Regions from separate parts of the Homo sapiens genome. Here region 2 is linked to region 1. Evidence: promoter capture Hi-C in human tissues and cell types (Jung and others, 2019). All regions are on one chromosome and are shown on one strand. Each heading gives the region's core, a stretch centred on a gene start or on the middle of the fragment in contact. The rest is flanking DNA. Distances are from core to core; before and after follow the strand shown.

Evidence for each region. Contacts are between HindIII fragments. The study calls those that stand out against the background at their distance.
Region 2: a contact is called between a fragment that was not itself captured here and the fragment with the promoter of KCNK18 in region 1, in 1 of the 25 tissues and cell types used here (spleen).

Annotation. Positions count from the first base shown.
Region 1 is chr10:117,196,064-117,198,889 of GRCh38, reverse strand. KCNK18 (potassium two pore domain channel subfamily K member 18) reads right to left here and starts at 1,401. Exons shown (of 3, transcript NM_181840.1): 1 at 1,179-1,401. The coding sequence starts at 1,401. It also overlaps the pseudogene RPL12P26. The HindIII fragment of the contact is 5,609 bases long and covers 1-2,826 here.
Region 2 is chr10:118,215,887-118,218,712 of GRCh38, reverse strand. No RefSeq gene overlaps it. Among named protein-coding and RNA genes, the nearest start is that of LINC02944, 24 kb to the left of the region's middle. The HindIII fragment of the contact is 4,157 bases long and covers 1-2,826 here.

The DNA of each region.
Region 1 (2,826 bases), core at 152-2,651:
TAGTCTAGGCCCTGCGATGGTGCAGTGTCCCTTTGGCAGCAATCTCCCAGGTCCACTGAGCAGGCTGGCGTCTGTCTGGCAAGGATGCAGGGAGTGGGACCCTCCACAGACAGGAGACTCTGCCTCCCTGGACTGGCCTCTTGTCTCTGGGAGCTGCACCTGTTCCCAAATCAAGGTCTGGGCTGTGGAAGGAGCCCCCACACCAGAGTGGGAGGGGAGGGGCTCCCTGCACCCCATTCTTCTCCTGACTTTTAGTGTCTGGTTTTCCTTTGTTTTTCATTTATCTACTCTCCCTTGTTTTATCTTGCTCTGTTGAATACAATAACAAGCTTCCTTCGAGGAACACAGCAGAGTAGAAACAAGTGACTAAATATGAAGAAAATGCAATGAGGACACTATAAAGTGACTTCTGTCTTCCAAGAGCCAGAATGTTCCTTGTCTCCTCTGCTTCTCACAGGGTCCCTGTGACCACCAAGTCTGAGATTGGGGGTCCCCTTCTCTCCCGCAGACTGAGACCCAGAGAGAACAAAGCTTTGCCTCCACGGATTGCAGAGCAAGCTGGGAGAGCAGCCAGGACAACAGCCAGGACCCCCACCCCTCCCCCCAGGTCTTCTCACAACACCTCCCCACTCCGCTGAGCCAGACAGCAGAAAAGGAGTTTGAAACAGGAAGTGGGGGCGTGGGTGGCAGGTGCTCCTGCTGGAATTTAAATCCAATTTGGGTTGTTCCCTAAATTCTCATCCCTGCAAACTGAATCCTGGGTCAGGCAGACATAGTTCTGAAAAGCAAGCTAGCCCCCCAACCCCAGCCCCAGATTTGCTCACCCATGCACCCCACCCCACCAAATTCCCAGTAATCCATCGTCCCCTGAGGCCACTGGTCTGGATGGGGCTGGGTGCTGAGGCACAGGAAGGGGAGCTGGTCTTTCCTGAGCACCTCAGGGTGCTCAGGGCCTTTCCTGCATTCTTCACAGCAACCCTGAGAGGCAGTTAGTCTCCCCACTTTTCAGAGGAGAAAACAGAGGTTCAGAAAGAAGTTACTCGCTTAAAGTGCCCAGGCATGAGGAGGATCCAGGCAGGCAGCTCCCAGACCCAGCCTCCTAGAAGGCAGCCCTCTGCTCTTGGGGGACTGCTGCCACCACGGAGAAAAGGCCCACCCTGTCCAGGTGAGGCACCTACCTGTTTCACTGCAGTTCAAGATTCTGCAGAGCTCCTCCAAGAACTTCTCAAACTCTCCATCATCTGCTGCCACCAGGACCTGGCCGTCCTCAATGGCAGAGAAGACCACAGCACCCACCAGGGCGTAGGTCACCAGAAAGCAGAGGAAGCAGAGGCCAGGGAAGAGCTTTCCCAGGGCCTCTGGGCAGCATCTCCTGGCCTGGGGGTGCCCCGAGACCTCCATCGTCCCTGAAGCATGCAGGGCAAGAGGAGCTGGTGGAAGAGGCAGGAGCATCTAAGCCCCGCCAGGAAGATGGGGTAGGAGTGCCCGGAGAACAGCCAGGCTCCAGTGCTAAGTGGATGGTGCGTGTGCTTCCCCAAGGACTCAGGAAGCAGCCGGCAACTCATCATGTTCAGTTCTTCCGAACTACTCAGATGGCGCCCTCCCTAGCACCCCAGATTGCTATTGATCCGCTGGGCCGGCCCTGGAGCTGCCTGGAAGGGGCTTTGGGAGGATAGTGTGGTTGTTGTTTTGTGCTACGTTTAATCTTTTCTATGCCCAAACTGCAGTTTTGAATTGCAGATCCCAAACCTGATCTTTGGCGTTTAGTCAAGTGATTCTTTCCTGAGAGCTGTCTGTGACACAACTTGGCTTAGGGTACCTGGTCTTCTGGACAGGTGATAATAGTAGTAACCTATAATAGTAACAGTAACCATAGTAACTAATGCGGCCAGAGCTCAATGGTTTCCAAAGGACCTTTATCCTGTGTGGATCTAATTATTGGTCCCAATTCTTCACTCCCCTGCTGCATACCCCCCCTTGCTGGGGCCTCACGGTGGGCAGAGTGTACTTCCTTGAACTTGGCTTTAGGGTAGGTCATCTCACTTGCTCCAGACAGCTGGGCATTAGCAGATGTGATGCAAGCAGGGGCTAGGCCTGTGCTTGTGCATTTGGACTTGCTTAGCTATGCCTGTGTCTGCCATGAGAAAAGGTGCCCCACCTTTCAATTTTCAGCTCAGAGTAGACCAATGTGCAACTTTCTTTGGTGGTCCTGAATCCAGGTTCATCCAACACCACCTACCTCCACCATACAGCCTAAGTTTGACCCCAACGAGATTAAAGTCTGAGATGCACCGGGAATGATGTTGGTGCCACATCTGTGCTGGCCCCTAAGATCAAACCCCTGTGTCTGTCTCCAAAACACATTGGTAATGACATCGTTAGGGCAACCGGTGATTTGAAGGATCTGAGGATTACAGTGAAACCATTCAGAACAGGCAGGCATAGATTGAGGTAGTACCTTCTGCCTCTGCCCTGATCATCAAAGCCCTCAAGGAACCTCCAGGAGACAGAAAGAAACAGAAAAACATTAAACCCAATGAAAATATCATTTGATGAGAATGTCAACATTGCCTGACAGATGCAGCTCCAATCTTTAGTTAGGGAACTCTCTGGAACAATTAAAAAGATCCCGGGGACTGCACCATCTGTGGGCTGCAATGTTGATGGTCACCACCCTCATGACATCAACAGTGGTGCAGTGGAATGCTCAGCTTGTTAAGCACAAAGGAAAATATTTCAATAAAGGATCATTTGACAACCAGTGGGGATAAAAAGTGCCTCAGATGGCAGCTGTGGAGATGCATGCAGGTTCAGATCCCTCTTCTA
Region 2 (2,826 bases), core at 158-2,657, 1.0 Mb before region 1:
ATTCTATTTTCAAAGACCCATTCCCATCACATTCTGATGTTCCATGCGAACAAACATTTTGAGGGGGGATGGTATTCAGTTCACTACAGTAAACAAGAACATCAGGAACAGTACAAGGAAAAGAGCTTGCCAAATAAAACCGAGGGTGCGCCTGGGCACAGTGGCTCACGCCTGTAATCCCAGCACTTTGGGAGGCTGAGGCAGGCGGATCACTGGAAATCAGGAGTTTGAGACCAGCCTGGCCAACATGGTGAAACCCTGTCTCTACTAAAAATACAAAAATTAGCCAGACATGGTGCTGGGTGCCTGTAGTCCCAGGTACTTGGGAGACTGAGGCAGGAGAATTGCTTGAACCTGGGAGGCAGAAGTTGCAGTGAGCTGAGACCACACCACTGCACTCCAACCTAAGTGACAGAGTGAGACTGTCTAAATAAATAAATAAACTAATAAATAAATAAAAATAAAAATAAATTAAAAAAAAAACCCACAAAGGTGCTATGGTCTAAATGTGTCTTCCTGAAATTTATATGTTGAAACCTAATCACCAAAGTGACAGTATTAAAAGGTGGGGTCTTTGGAGGTAATAAGGTCATAAGGGCTGTACCCTGTGAATGGGACTAATGCTGTTATAAAAGAAGCCCCAGAGAACCTTGTCCCTTCCATCGTTCGAGGACACATAGAAAACACTGTCTATGAGGGACGGCCTCTCACCAGACACTGAATCTGCTATAGCCTTGATTTGGAACTTTCCAGACTCAAGAACTGTGAGCAATACATTTTTATTGTTCATAAATTACCCAGTCTAAGGTATTTATTGTAGCATGCTGAATGGACTATGACAAAGGAGAAGGTTGATACTCAAGATGCCTGCCACAGGGTATTCCACACACGATTAGAAGGTAGGCTGCAAATTTGTCACGGCAATTTCTTACATAGTAAAGTTGCTATGATTAAGAGCTCGGCCATTTGCTGACTTGCTTATGGTTTGAATCCTGGCTGATTTCACCAGTGTTATTTGGAGAGAATTACTTAACTTCCCTGTGCCTCAATTTCTTCATCTGTAAGATAGGAATAATGGCTGGGGGAATAAAATTAAATAATACATGCAAAGCACTTGCCACAAGTCAGTTCTTGCCATGGAAATGTTCGGTATGCAAGGTCTAGAAGGCAAAAAGTAAAGGAAGCTTCAAAGTTATGGTGTGGGAGGGAATTTCAAATGAATGATAAAATCTGGCTAGGGAGTTTAGAAAAGGCTTCGTGCGAGGAGTGGCCATTAGAACAATTTGTACACTTGGAGATGGGTGGGAAGATGCTTTTTCCAGCCGGTCTGGTTTTGGGGGAACAGGGACCAGTCTAGTTTGGCTGGAGCATAGAAAACAGAGAGGAAGTGTGTGGGACTAATTGGAAAGATGGGCAAAGCCCACCTGCGGACATCAGGGTGAAGAGGCTAACCCAATTGGCACAAGTGATCGTGTCCTCTGCCCAAGTTCTGACATCTGCATTGGCAATGGCTCTCCCAGGAAGAGGGACATTCCCTGGTCTCTGGAGAAGCCTAAACCAGCCTATGCCCTGCATCTCTGCACTGCTCCACTGCTGTTCCTCCTCCTGTCTGGTGGTTTTCAACCTGCTGTAAATTTTGTGGTTCTGTTTTGATGTATCTCACACCACTCCTCATTGGTAGAAACAGAACTGCCCACTGTTAGGGTTTTACACTTAACTCAGATGTTTTATTCCAAACTTGGAGTTTTACAATCTTGTACTGCATGTCTCTCCACCCCCTCACTTCTTTATCTATATCCAGGGTTATATATGTGACTCTGTGTCTGGTCCCCCGTGACCCCTGGATCATTTCCATGCTGTCTCTGGGATCCACAGGCATTCTAAATCTTATCCTGACCTAATTCGCCTCTTCCTTCTCTGCAGGGCACTGCAATGCGCTCACATAGTACTGCTCTGTATCAGAGATGTGGCAAGCTGCTCTCCCCCAGTCACAAACCATAAAATTAAGAAGGGCAAGACTCTCCTGATTAATTTCATTTGTCTGTCTTTAAACCCATTAAAGAAAATGCCTGTTTCAACCATTCTTTTGCAAGCATATTTGTAAATAATACTTAAAAAACACTTCATCTAATTATTCTTACCACAGCTGAATGCTAACAAATTGAAGATGAGATTTATGTTTAGACAGCTTTAAGGTACTAATTTTTTCACAACAATAGGCGCTGCAATTGACAAAATTAAAAAAGAAGATGTAGACCAACAAAAATTAATTTGCACCAGGCTTAATAGTTTCTCTAAGTAAATCAGCCTCTCCTCGGCTGCCTAAGAAAAGCCATAAAAATTTCTGAGAAGAATCTGGAGTTTAGGATTCCACACTAATTGCTTTCTCTCCCCTTTTACGTCACCTCCTTTTCTTGTTCATCTTGACTGCAAGGGGACACGCAGTTTCTATATTCAAAATGCCTTCGGCTCTGCTGGGGTAAGGAAGTCAGGGGGAGGAGGGGGCAGGCCAGGGAACCACATAAATAAATGGGAATTTCTACATGGACATGAGGATTTTCTTCTTCATTTTAAAAAAATGAGAATAAGGCACGAGTATAAATTCCAAAAAGAGCAATTTATTTAAGTCTATCATTTTTGGCAACACAATAGAACGCAGTTTGGGATGAACAGTCACAAATCACTCCCCTTCCCACTGTCTGTTTTCTCCACCATATGTTGTGGAGAATACAATTCACATGCTGAAGCTTCGCCTCCTCTCCATGTGAGAAAGCACATTGTGCTATCAGCGGCCTGGTCACTGAGCCAGTGTTTTTTGGAGTGGTG